2 separate regions of the Homo sapiens genome follow, and region 2 is linked to region 1. Evidence: promoter capture Hi-C in human tissues and cell types (Jung and others, 2019). All regions are on one chromosome and are shown on one strand. Each heading gives the region's core, a stretch centred on a gene start or on the middle of the fragment in contact. The rest is flanking DNA. Distances are from core to core; before and after follow the strand shown.

The links. Contacts are between HindIII fragments. The study calls those that stand out against the background at their distance.
Region 2: a fragment that was not itself captured here is called in contact with the fragment with the promoter of ZFYVE27 in region 1 in 1 of the 25 tissues and cell types used here (adrenal gland).

Annotation. Positions count from the first base shown.
Region 1 is chr10:97,731,548-97,738,392 of GRCh38, reverse strand. It overlaps ZFYVE27 (zinc finger FYVE-type containing 27), which reads right to left and starts at 1,265. Exons shown (of 13, transcript NM_001385875.1): 1 at 1,072-1,265. RefSeq lists silencers at 1,000-1,069, 6,287-6,581 and an enhancer at 1,400-1,549. The HindIII fragment of the contact is 10,455 bases long and covers 1-5,235 here.
Region 2 is chr10:97,772,320-97,779,300 of GRCh38, reverse strand. No RefSeq gene overlaps it. Among named protein-coding and RNA genes, the nearest start is that of SFRP5, 3.8 kb to the right of the region's middle. RefSeq lists an enhancer at 4,175-4,469. The HindIII fragment of the contact is 7,465 bases long and covers 1-5,110 here.

The sequences.
Region 1 (6,845 bases), core at 16-2,515:
GTAAACCTGTGAGCAAGGGAAAGTGAACTATTCAGACCTAAAATCCTGTTCTTTGTACTCTCCATCCAATGCTCTTTTCCCCAAAGATCCATCAAAACTAAAAATCATAAAAACCAAGCATAAATGATCGCTGCAGCGAGGCAGCCCATGGGCTGAAATGAAATGATGTCCTGGAACATTTTTCTCCCACTCTTTACCTGGTTAATTCCTACTCATCCTTCAGGTATCAGCTTAAACATCACTCCCTTACTCTGGGAAGTCTCTGCCAACACCCCCAACTCTGGACTGGGAGACCCTCTCCGATGCTCCCAAAGGATCACGTACTCACCCTAACAGAGCACTTATCACATCACATCGCTTCTTGGCCTTGTGGCTAAGATCAAGTGCAGAGCACTGACCACGTCAAAGTAAAACTCCCTGCTCTTAACTGGCCTCCATTCACGACTGCTTCTGTACACAGTGGGTGCTTAACAAATGCCTGCTGAATGAGTGAATGAAATACCGTGCTCCAGGACTCTCGCCCGATCCTCTAACTCTTCCCACTCCCTTCGGTTCCCAACAACTTCCTGGGCCATCTCTGCCCCAGGGCAGTCGGCATCAGAACGCCCCATTCCCGTCTGCCCTTTCTGATGAGGAAACCGAGGAGCCTTTACGGTCTTTCCCAGTTCAAAGTCCTATCCTGAACTCTAAGCAGCAAACGAGGGGGCGGAACCTCGGCGAAGAGCAACATAAACCAGTCCCAGGCAATCAGCCGCGACCTGATGGGAGGGTGAGGGGATGGGACAAAGGGGCCAACGGGACCCCGAAATCCCCGCAGGCCGAGCCAAGGCGAAAGGGCACAGAGCGGCGCCAGGTATGAGCCCAGGAAGGGGCGAGGTATATCGACGCCCGCACTGGCCTTGGCCAACACCTCTGCAGCCAGGGGGGCCTGATGGAGCCCGTGAGGCTGGACAGGGAAGGCCATGCCCGAGGTCGTGGGGCCAGCATGTGGCGGCCCCCGCTGCGCCCAAGCACCCAACTACACACAGCCTGCGGAGACACTGGGACGCGGGGGGACGGCACCTCACCTACCCGGCCGCTGGCTCCGTGAGGGAGGCGGCAGGGTCGGGCAGGAGCAGGGGTAGAGCCACTGGGCCCCGGAGCGTTTCTTCAGGCCTCCCCCGGCTGAACGCCGCTCCTCCTGCCAGGGTTGTTCGGAAGTCGCAGGTCCGAAAATCTCCTCCGCCTACGCCGCGGCCGCCACCGCCGCTTCCGGGACGCGAATCGCTCTGCGGCTGCGTCCTCATGACGTCATCCCGCTCCGGGTTTAGCTCCGCCCACCCCAGCACAGGCAAGCACCCTTGCCAGCAGTGCGCCTGCGCGTCTTTCCCGCGCGCTCCAGGCTGGAGTTAATTCTGTCCTTGGCCGGCCGCCGTTCACAAAGCCTTGAGGACCCTTGGAAGCACGTGCTTGGCGACCCTGCAGCTCGTTGCCCTGCCTTGCCGCAGGGAACAGTTGGCGAGAGGCTTAAATGAAGAATTTACGTCTTCATCCTCTTTCCTTCCAACTTTGGAACTGAACTGGGGACTGTGTGTGAGCCCCGGAAAGACACCGTATCCTGTATGAGATGCCCAGCAGAGCATGCAGTTGTTTCCGGAGTAGCTAGTGTGTACAAGGTCCTGTGCAGGCCTCTCCCAGCTCAGTTCACTTCACACCGTGTGGCCCAGTTAATTTCCCTTAAAGCACACATCCGATGGCTTTATATTAGTGACTTAGCGCTCAGGTACAGAGGAGCCAAGCACTGAACCGGACTGAGCTCTTTTTAGACATTATCTAGTTCTCCTCCAACGACCCTATTAGGGTTGTCGCCATTTTACAGATGGGGAATCTCAGACGTGTTAAGGAACTTCTTTAGAGTCACAGCTAAGAAGCAAATGGGAGCTGGAATTTGAAGCTTATGTGTCATCTGACCCCAACGCCCCAACCATACCACCACCCACCTTGGTCTGCATTTCCTGGTCTTGTCTCCTGCCATCTTTCAGCTGCCTTTAACTTTGGCCAACTGAACCCCTCCACTGTTACCCTCAAATGCCCCTGGCACTCAAATGTCTGTATCCCTTCCTTGAGTGCCCCAGCTGGAAGTAATCACTTCCCTCTTCAAGTAGCCACAGAGCTTTAACTGCATCTCTTCCTCCATTATCTCCTTTCAGAAAGACAGGCCCATCCCTCCAGCCAGGACTTAGCTGTGCTCCAGGGTCCAACTCTTATTTCCTTAGGGCTTTGCTCTAACAGGCCTGAAATCTTGACTCTCGCTAACTCTTAATCATCATTCTAGAGACAAAATTCATGGAAAATTTCTCCTTTAGCCTAACTTTACCCCCTCTTTCCTACATGAGTTGGAAGACTCACTGTGAAGTGCTCTCTACCGCTGCTTCCTCGCCCAATTCACTCCTCACTGCACTGTGGTCCTGCTCCCCTCCATATTTCTGGGCTACCTGCCTGCTCACCTGTGACATCCTGGCTGCTAAATCCAATGGACACTTCCCAGTCCTCCTTGCAGATGACCTCAGAAGCACTGGAATCTCTTTCCTTTTTGGCACCATTGTCCACCTTAGCTTCCATGACACCACCCTCTCCTCTCTTTCCGACCTTCAAGGTCTCCTTAGGGCTTTTCTTCCTACCCCTCAAATGCTGGGGCTCCTTTTGCTACCCTTCTTTCTTCTGACTCAAGGCACTCCGTGAGGATCTCATTCACTCTTGTGGCTTCTGTCAGCTAATGTTTCGTTTCCCGTGTCTATGTCTCCAGCACCTAAAGCAGTACCTGGCACATAGTAGGCATTCTGTTAAGAAGGGTTGCAAGATGTTACCATTGGGGGGTAGTCTGTGGGATCACCCTGTGTTAGTTCTTATAACTATGTATAAATTGACGATTGTCCCAAAAGTAAATGCTTACCCTGTGTAGGTATTTTTCTCAAAGCTCCCTGCTTTAGTTGACTTTGTCAATTACCCGGCATGCGCCAGTCCCAACATAAGTAAGGTAGGAGGGCTTCTCCTCAGATGAATTGCTTGGTTGGTTTTTCCAGCTGTAAAATGGGGATAACCATAGTGGTACCCTCAGTGTGGGGCTGTGATGAGAATTAAATGAGCTAAAGTATGTAAATTCCTGACATGTTATAAGTGTTCAAAAATCGTTAGCAATCATTGTGATTTTTATTTTTACTCAAAGCCCTACCACCACCACCCCTAGCCCAAAAATCAGACAAGAATCCACGAAAGGCCAAAATGTAGAAAGATCCAATTCCCACACATATCACTAAGCCATATACAGAAATCCACTCACCACCCCTTAGAGAAATGGACTGAGCTTTGTGGTGGTCCAGGCCCATCTGCTGGACTCTGCCTCTCCTCCCTTAGGATGGGTCTTTTCCCCGAAAGCTCCTGGGTCTGTCATGCAGATAGCCTCTGAAGGCCCCTCTTCTTCGTTTCCTAACCTGGCCTCAGGTCTGAATTCCAGGATAGGCCATCGCCACTCCCCACCCACTCCCATCCCCCACCCTGTCCACCCCTCTGTACCTTTCTCAGACCACTCTCTTGGTGGATAGTTTCAGTGGCCCCCTGTGACCTCCAGGATAAAACCAAAGCCTGGTGTATTCAACTCTGGCAGTTCTCGGATATGTCACACCTTCTCCCATTACTGTACCTTTCTACAGACTACTCTCACCTTTTTTTTTTTTTTTTTTTTGAGATAGAGTTTTGCTCTTGTTGCGCAGGCTGGAGTGCAATGGAGAAATCTTGGCTCACTGCAACTTTTGCCTCCCAGGTTCAAGCGATTCTTCCGCCTCAGCCTCCTAAGTAGCTGGAATTACAGGCATGCACCACCATGCCTGGCTAATTTTTTGTATTTAGTAGAGATGGGGTTTCACCATGTTGGCTAGACTGGTCTCAAACTCCTTACCTCAGGTGATCCACCTGCCTCGACCTCCCAAAGCGCTGGGATTACAGACGTGAGCCACTGCGCCCCATATTCTTTAGTTGGCCAGCTCTTATTCTTCCTCCAAAATTCAGCTCAGATCTCACCCCTGAAGAAAGACTTCTCTGACACCTTCCCCATCAGCAGCCACTGTCTGGATTACGTGCCCTTCTGACTTGGCTCCGTGGGCCTGCCCCACCCCAGCACTTGGTGCCTCCTCCTCTCTCTAGACAGTGAGAGTCCTGAGGGAACTGCCTATAATTTCTGTGTCCAGCATCTAGCACAAAGGAGGTACCAACAAATGTTCCTTGAATGAGCGCATGCGTGTCAGTTTCCTCTTGGAGCACAGAATTCACATCTCTTTCAACAAAAGCCCCAGAACAATGCCCATTTCTTTTTTCTTTTTCTTATCTTTCTTTCCTTTTTTAATGTAATTTTATTTTATTTTTGAGATAGGGTCTTCTGCTGCTGCCCAGGCTGCAGTGCAATGGTGCAATCATAGCTCACTCTAATTCCTGGGCTCAAACAATCCTCCTGCCTCAGCCTCCAGAGGAGCTGGGACTACAGGTGCACACCACTAACACCTAGCTACTTAATTTTTATTTTTATTTTTTTTTGAAACGGAGTCTCACTCTGTCATCAGGCTGGAGTGCAGTGGCACGATCTTGGCTCACTGCAAGCTCCGCCTCCCGGATTCAAGCGATTCTCCTGCCTCAGCCTCCCGAGTAGCTGGGACTACAGGTGCACACCACCACGCCCAGCTAATTTTTGTATTTTTAGTAGAGACGGGGTTTCACCATGTTGGCCAGGATGGTCTCGATCTCTTGAGCTCGTGATCTGCCTGCCTCAGCCTCCCAAAGTGCTGGGATTACAGGTGTGAGCTACCGTGCCTGGCCAATTTTTTTTTTTTTTTTTTTTTTGTAGAATGAGGTGTTGCTATGTTGCCCAGGCTGGTCATGAATCATTTCTTAAAACAATGACTGTGAAACCAGCAAGAATGAACTGGACAGAAATTCTACCCTCTATGAACTCTTAGTTCAACAGAAGACGCTGACTTGACTGAGCCATGATATAAAGCAGGGGATTCTACTGTAACCGTAGGAGCAGAGAGAAGAGGCAGACTTAATCTAAGTGAGAGGATGGGGAAAGTTTTGTGTTCAACAATGTAGTATTTAAGCTAAGGAGTCCCCACCCTTCTTAAGAAAAATAAATTTTTTTCTTTAATAACCTAAGTACCGGTCAGGCACAGTGGCTCACACGTGTAATCCCAGCACTTTGAGAGGCTGAGGCGGGCAGATCACCTGAGGTCAAGAGTTTGAGACCAGCCTGGCCAACAAGGTGAAACCCCGTCTCTACTAAAAATATAAAAATCAGGCCGGGCGCGGTGGCTCACGCCTGTAATCCCAGCACTTTGGGAGGCCAAGGTGGGCAGATCATAAGGTCAAGAGATCGAGACCATTCTGGCTAACACGGTGAAACCTGGGCTCTACTAAAAATACAAAAAAATTAGCCGGGCATGGTGGTGGGCGTCTGTAGTCCCAGCTAGTGGGGAGGCTGAAACAGGAGAATGGTGTGAACCCAGGAGGCGGAGATTGCAGTGAGCCGAGATCATGCCACTGCACTCCAGCCTGGGCGACAGAGCTAGACTCCGTCTCAAAATAAATAAATAAATAAATATAAAAATTAGCCGGGTGTGGTGGCGCGTGCCTGTAATTCCAGCTACTTAGGAGGCTGAGACAGAAGAATTGCTTGAACCCAGGAGGCGGGGGTTGCAGTGAGCGGAGATCGTGCCACTGCACTCCAGCCTGGGCGACAGAGCAAGACTCTGTCTCGAAAAAATAATAATAATATATATATCCTAAGTGCCTGAAATTCTCACACTGGTAATTTACTCCAAAGGTAAATTTTAGTTTCTTTGCAATTCCTCCTCCTTGGCCTCAGTCTGACAGTGGAGAGTAATAGTATTTGTTTTCTCTTCCAGCAGCTATAGAATTGAGAGATATTATTCAAGAATTTCTAGACATTATCTGGAGGGAACATTGGAGGATACAAGAAGGCTTTAAAAACCAGAAAGGGACAATAGTCGTGGCCTGTAGCGATGAATAAAGGCCTCCCCTTATAATTAAGAGACGGACCAGCTTGACTGTGCTCTCTCGAGTCTAATTCTGATTTTTCCATAATCAAGTTCTAGTTCCTTCTTTCCCTCCTGCAGCATTCTGCCTCAACTCCTGGTGCTGCTGATGTTTTCCCCTTGGTAGCAGACAGGTAGAAGAGACTAAGGGAGAAAATTAAATAATCACTGAAGATAATATCTTACCTTGACATTTTGCAGAGGTTAGTATTTGCTTCAATAAGCAAGTGTGTTTATGGCCCACATACTTGACTCATAAACCTCACTGTGGCCCTTGGAGAAATACTAGGTGGAAATGCTGAGGAGAACAGGCTGGAGAAATCAGGGAAGAGAGAAGGGAATGTCTAAGCATGCCTCCTCCACCAGATGGCTCCCTTGCCCACTCTTATGGAGAAACATGGCATTTCAGAAGCATCTCTTTCAACTCCAAGTTTCTGGCTTTAACCTCTCGTGCCAGCCTCAATGCATTTCTCGCCATTTCCACACTATGCCAGATATTTTCATGCTTCTAGCTGCATTAGTTATCTCTTGCTGTGTAATGAAGTATTTCAAAACTTAATTACTTAAAACAACAATAAGCATGTATTATCTCACAGTTTTTTGGGTTCTGGGTGTTTTTAGTCAGAAAATCAAGAGCAGCTTGGTGATGGTTTTGGCTCAGGCGCTTTCATAAGGTTGCAGTCACATGTTGGTCAAGGCTGCAATCATCTGAAGGCTTAGTGGGGCTGGAGGATCGGCTCCCAGGGTGGCTTCCTCACACAGCTG
Region 2 (6,981 bases), core at 129-2,628, 41 kb before region 1:
TCAGAGAAACTGGGAGTGAAGAGCTACAGGATTTGGCGATGGTCTCTAAAGACCACTGTCATGCCCACATTCAATAATATTAACTAACAATTATACAGTGCTTACTGTTCACTGTCCTAAACAATTTTTAAAATTAACTCTAACCTCAACAATTCTCTAAGAAATTATTGTTATTAATATCCCCATTTTACAGATGAGGAAACTGGAGCACAAAGAGGTTAAATAACTTGCCCAAGGTCATGTGGCATTGCTAAAATCAGAACCCAGTCTGGCCCCAGAGTTCACGCTCTTAACCAAAACATTAGACAGCCTCTCCAATGTGCTTCTAACCAGTGTTGCCAACTGGCCACAGCCCAGGGACTCCAGGTGCGCTGGGAACCCAGGCAGAAGAGGAGAGCAGTATTCAGCCTTCTCTCCATCCATAGCCCCAACTAGAGAATGCCAGCAGTGCTCATCCCATCCCACCTGCCTTCATGCTTCAGACGGGCACACTTTGAGCTGGACTCAGCCCCCAGGCCCAAGAGAAGCCTCGCCTCTGCTTTTGTTCCTCAAGCCATGTGAGATCAGGACAAGTCGGAGAGCCTCTCAGTGGCTAGGCTCATGGAAGGGAGGACCGAGGCTGGCCCCCCTCGTCAGTTGATTCAGTTGCCAGTAAGTCTCGCTCAAGCCCCTCTGTAACCAGCCTACCCAGCGATGCTGAGCAGGCCTGCCTGAACTGCCAACCAGAGCACAGGCTGCTCAGCAGGGAGGCCCTGCACAGCTGGGGGCCTCTGGGACAGACTTTGCAACCGACAAAAGCTAAAATGCAGGAAAGTAAAACAACTGGAGGTATGGTAGGAAGAGCTCTAGACTGCGGGCTCAGGAAGGCCAATTTTTAGTTTCCTTTTATAGAAAATGGTGGGGGACCAGGAGGGTGATGCCTGGGGACAGTAGGTGCCTGCCAGCACTGATAGTTTCATTAATTAGACCACTCACCCCAGTTTTTTAATGGGCACTTAATGGCAGCTGCTATGAAGACACCACCCTAGCAGAGGAGCACTGGGATTGTAAAAGGCAGACAACTGGCCGGGCGCGGTGGCTCACACCTGTAATCCCAGCACTTCGGGAGGCCGAGGTGGGCGGATCATGAGGTCAAGAGATCAAGACCATCCTGGCCAACATGGTGAAACCCCGTCTCTACTAAAAATACAAAAATTAGTTGGGCGTGGTGGCACGCGCCTGTAGTCCCAGCTACTCAGGAGGCTGAGGCAGGAGGATCGCTTGAACCCAGGAGGCAGAGGTTGCGGTGAGCCGAGATCGAGTCACTGCACTCCAGTCTGGTAACATAGCGAAACTCCATCTCAAAAAGGAAAAAAAAAAAAAGGCAGACAATTCCAGGAGTCTGAAATAATGACAAGACCCTGTCTTACCACTTCAGTCATCCCAGCCCTCCTGGGGGCCCAAGCAAGCCTGTCCTGGCAAGGCCTCCTCATAGCCCGGGACAGGGGAGGCAACAGCGAACCTGGGGGCCTCCTTCCATTCCTCAGCCCCACCTCCATCATCATCCCAAGCCCCTTCCATTATCTCACTGGATCCTCAAGATAAACCCACAGAGAATGCAGGGCAATGTGGTCCCCGCCACCGCACAGATGAGGCAACTGAGACTCAGGGTCTCAGTAAATTAAAAGGTAATTAAATTACTTTTGCTAGTAAATTAAAAAGGTGTAACTCAGGATCTTTTGAATCCCAGCTTGGTGTACTCCCCACTGCCCCACACTGCCTCTCCTGGGGGCCTTGTCAGGAGGCATAAACAGGGCAGATCTCCTGGCTGGCGGATCTGCTGCAGCACTGACCACAGAGCTACTACACAGGGCACTCTGCAGGGTGCTGCTGTCACTCATTATCTCAGGAAGCCTTCAGCAACCAGCACTACCAGTACATAGATGCTATTAACTCTATTTTACAGATAAAGAAACTGAGGTTCAAGGTCCAACATACACAGGCCCAAGGACACACCACTAGGAAGTGCTCAGAATTCAGCACAGGTCAGTCTGACTCCAAAGCCTAGACTATGCCTGCCGCACCACATACGCTGCCTTCCCGTGCCTGTGTACTCCACACCAACAAGGACCAAGTCTCTTTCACATCCATACCTGGCCCATAGCAGGTTCTATTTAAGTGTTGGTTCATGAAATCATTATTCTTAAGGCCTAAGGCATTAAAAGAAACAAAAAAGGATATTTCATACAGATAGAAGTTACAATTCAACCAGAAGCTATAATAATCATGAAGCTTTTATACACCTGACAACATAGCATTAAGGTATATAAAGCAAAAATTGATTTTAAAAAAAGGAAAAATTGCCAAACCCATATGCACAATAGATTTCATACACCTCTATCAGAAATGCACAGATTAAGTAGCCCAGCAGTTCTCAAACATTTTGGTCTCAGAACCTCCTTGCACTCTTAAAAATTGAGACCCCAGGCTGGGCACGGTGGCTCACACCTGTAATCCCAGCAGTTTGGGAGGCTGAGGTGGGTGGATCACCTGAGGTCAGGAGTTTGAGACCAGCCTGGCCAACCAACATGGTGAAATCCTGTCTCTACTAAAAATACAAAAATTAGCCGGACATGGTGGCATGCACCTGTAATCCCAGCTACTCGGGAGGCTGAAGTGGGAGAATCACTTGAACCCAGGAGGCAGAGGTTGCAGTGAGCTGAGACTGCGCCACTACACTCCAGCCTGGGTGACAGAGCGAGACTCCTTCTCAAAAAAGAAAAAAATTGAGAATCCCAAAGAGATTTTGTTTACGTGGGTTTATACCTATCATTATTCACCATATTTGGAATTAATAATGAGGAAAAAGTTAAATGCATTAATGCTTTAAAATAATAAATGTTTATATGTTAATATAAATTTTTATGAAAAATAATTGTATTTTTCAAAACAAAAAATAATTTTAGTGAGAAGAGTGACATTGTTTTACATTTTTGCAAATCTCTTTAATGTCTGGCTTAACAGAAGCCAGCAGATTCTCATATATGCTTCCGCATTCAGTCTGTTGCCATATGTTGTTTTGGTTGAAGTATATGAAGAAAATTTGGCCTCACACATAAATGTAGTTGGAAAAGGGAGGAGTATTTTGATGGCCTTTTCAGTTAATTGTGAGTATGCTTCTTTGATACTACCCCAAAGACTGACATGTGTAGTTTCTTTCTTTTTTTTTTTCTTGAGACAGGGTGTCGCTCTGTCACCCAGGCTGGAGTGCAGTGGCGTGATCTTGGCTCACTGCAACCTCCACTGCCTCCCCTCAACAAACCCCACTCCCCAACCCCCACTCAAGTGTCGATCCTCCCACCTCAGGCTCCTGAATAGCTGGGACCACAGGCACACACCACCATGCCTGGATATTTTTTTGTATTTTTAGTAGAAACAGAGTCTCACCATGTTGCCCAGGCTGGTCTCAAAACTCCTGGGCTCAAGCAACCCACCCACCTCGGTCTCCCAAAGTGCTGGGAATACAGGCATGAGCCACCGCGCCTGGCCTGACATGTGTAGTTTCTTAAATGTAATGCAGAATCTGAAACCATATCAATAAGCTTCTCTTACCCAATTACCTTAAAATCCATTGGACTATCTTGTACCTTGAATGGGCATTTGAATTATGTACAGTTTTGACCCTGTATACCCCTCCGGAAAGAGTCTCGGGGTCCCCCTGGGGAACACTGACCATACTTTGAGAACCATTGAAATAGACAATAAAAGAGTGAAAAAATGTAGAATTTGATAACATAATTAGCAAGTTTGATCTAAGAGGTATTTATATAGAACTTTGCTCACAACAAACTACGAATACACATTTTTTTGAACAAATGGTCCCCTTTATCAGCTGGGGGAAAGGTCTGGACAGGCTGTGGATGCTCCAAGATGGACAGATGCCCGGCACAGTGCCCAGGTGTTCCACCTGCTGCTTAGGCCCTGGTTCGGCCTCAGCAAGAAGGGGCACTACATCAGAGAGCAGCCTTCTCCTGCCCAGGCTGCAGAACCAGGTCAAATGGCCACAGAGAGAGAGCTCCCCTGACAACAGCCCCATGGTGCAGCCCTCACCTCGGCTTGGTTCCTGTCAAGTTTCCCTCCTTGCATTCACCCTGTCCCGTGTCAGGGGCCCCCGGGGGTCCCCACGACAGAGCTGCCAGGTAAAGAGTGTCCATGCTCCTCTTCCAGGAGGCTTTCAGCCAGTCCCCTCTGCCCGTTACAGCCCTCGGAGCTGTCAGGTGTGGACTCACAGCTCTCTGATCATGCGCAGTTCTTACATAACCACCAGTAGAAACAAAGCCCTGCTCTGTCCAGGCCAGGTACTGGGACGCCAAGAACAGCACAGCCGACCAGCTGCCCAAGGAGGCAGCACTTTGCACAACCACCTGGGAGGCTCTAACACACCGTCAGTGCCCAAGGCCATACCTTCCCTGGAGGGCAGGAGCCTGCCAAGCCTGGAGGGGTGGGAGAGTCAGGGTGCAGGGGCAGAACTGCTGTTCAGAGCCCCAAACCAGAGCCAGAACCAAGGCATCCAAGGGCTTTCAGAACACACACCACTTTCTTTCTTTTTTTTTTTTTTTTTTTGAGACGGAGTCTTGCTCTGTCTCCCAGGCTGGAGTGCAGTGGCATGATCTCAGCTCACTGCAACCTCCTCCTCCTGGGTTCAAGCAATTTTCCTGCCTCAGCCTCCTGAGTAGCTGGGATTACAGGCACGCACCACCACGCCCGGCTAAGTTTTGTATTTTTAGTAGAGACAGGATTTCACCATGTTGGCCAGGCTGGTCTCAAACTCCTGACCTCAGGTGATCTGCCCACCTCGGCCTCCCAAAGTGCTGGGATTACAGGCATGAGCCACCATGCCCAGCCACCACTTTCTTTTTTTAAGAGACAGGGTCTTGCTCTGTTGCCCAGGCTGGAGTGCAATGGTGCAATCACAGCTCACTGTAACCTCGAACTCCTGAACTCAAGCAGTTCTCCCACCTCAGCCTCCAGAGTAGCTGGGATTGCAGGCGCATGCCACCATACCCAGTTAACTTTTCTAATTTTTGTAGAGATGGAGTCTTGCTGTGTTGCCCAGGCTGGTCTCAAACTCCAGGGCTCAAGCGATCCTCTCACCTCAGCCTCCCAAAGTGCTGGGATTTACGGGCGAGAACAACTGCACCCAGCCCATACAGCACATTTTTACCTCAAAGTCACACGTCCCTTGGGGATCTAACATTCCTAGGTGTTCATTCTGTGTGTTGGCACTGTGCAGGGGGCTTTCTTTCCATTCACCTTATTTGCTTCTCACAGTAACTGCTGAAGAAATTCCATTTTACAAAGAAGGAAATGAGGTTAAGTACTTGCCCAAGGTCATACAGCTAATATGTGGCCAGGATCTGAACCTGGCTCCATCGTCTGCAGAGCCCAGGCTCTCGCACCATTGCTACACTGCACTGCCTGGCCCTGCAGAGACCAGTCCTTCACCTTCTGAGTGGCCATCTGCATAACCTCTTCATGCTGGGGGCTGGGAGAGGGAGAGGGGAAAAGAAGGCCAAAGTTTACTCTACCTGGACCCCACTAGGTCATCCTGGACATCAAACACGGCTTGTCCCACCCTTGGGGCTCAGTGAGATGAGGCTTCTCCTGCCTCCTCTGCCTGCCTTGTATCTTTTTCTTACAACTAGATCAGAAGGAACAGAGCCATGTCTTTTGCACCTCTGTGTCCCCATGCATACCCTACCCCATGCCTTGCAGATAGTAGGTACTCTATGCATTTTCTGTGAATATTAAGGAGTGGCCCCTCACCCCTCTCCACTACCACTGCAAGGACAGACCCAGAGGAAGACAGGAGCCCTGGAAACATCCATTAGTGGGACTAAGGGGAGGAGCAGAGGGGGAAAGTGCCCAGTACTCCTGCCTTCCAGCAGAGCCAGCCCCCAGCTCCCCACGCCCTCCTAGGAGACACCTCCCCAAGGTACCCTCCCCACCAAAGACTGGGAGGTCAGGTGTCAGGCTAGGCTCTCAGGAAGGAATTCCCCTCCCTTCAAGCCTCCAGTCCAAATTCCTCTCAAGGGAGAGCCAATGAAAGGCAGGACTCAGACAGGAGAGAAAGACACCAAGCATGGGGCTCCTGAAGGTCCCCTCCCCTCTGATGCTTGCCTGGGTGCCCTGCTCAGACACACCATCAATTCCCCCTCTTCCCACTGTGTTCCCTACCATGGGTTGGAAGTTATCTTACCACAGAGTGGTTAAGCCCTGGCCTTTGTAGCCCAACATCTGGATTCAAATCCTAGCTCCTTCACATATGAGCTGTGTGGCCAAGGGCCAGTTACTCCACTTCTCTGAACTCCCTATCCCCTTGGTCATTAGGCCTACAGACTCAGAATCCAGGCCTCCTGGTTGTTTCTGGGCTCTGACTCTCGAAAAAGACTATCTGGGTTCAAATCCCAGCTCTAATCTGTGCTTAACCTCTCTGCCGCAGGATCTTTATCTGTAAGGTGGGGACAATAATAGTACCTACCCACCATCTAGCCTTATTGTGAGAATTAGCTGAGGGAGTTTATGCAATGTGCTCAGATCAGACTTGGCACACAATTAGCACCCACTAAGTATTGGCTATCATTAGCAATAGCTGATAAGCTTGGAACGTACCTTGCACCGCACCTTGCACCGCACCTTGCACCTTGCACCGTCCCTGGCAGGTAGTAAGAGCTCACTAAATAGAAGCTATGATTACCTTCACCCCCACTAGACTATCCTGGCCCTGGAGGTGGGTTCTGGGTCATATCCATCTTTGATTCCCCAGCAGCCAGCATGGGGCCTGGCACCAAGCTCAATGAAGACCTGCCAGGAGGACCAGAAGATCCAGGGTGTGGGGTGGCACGAGCCTCCCACCAGGGAGAAGAGGAACCGAGGTGTCGGGGAAGAGAAAACAGAGCAGAGGGAGAAAAGCCAAGGCAGAGAGATAAGCAAGTGAAGTGA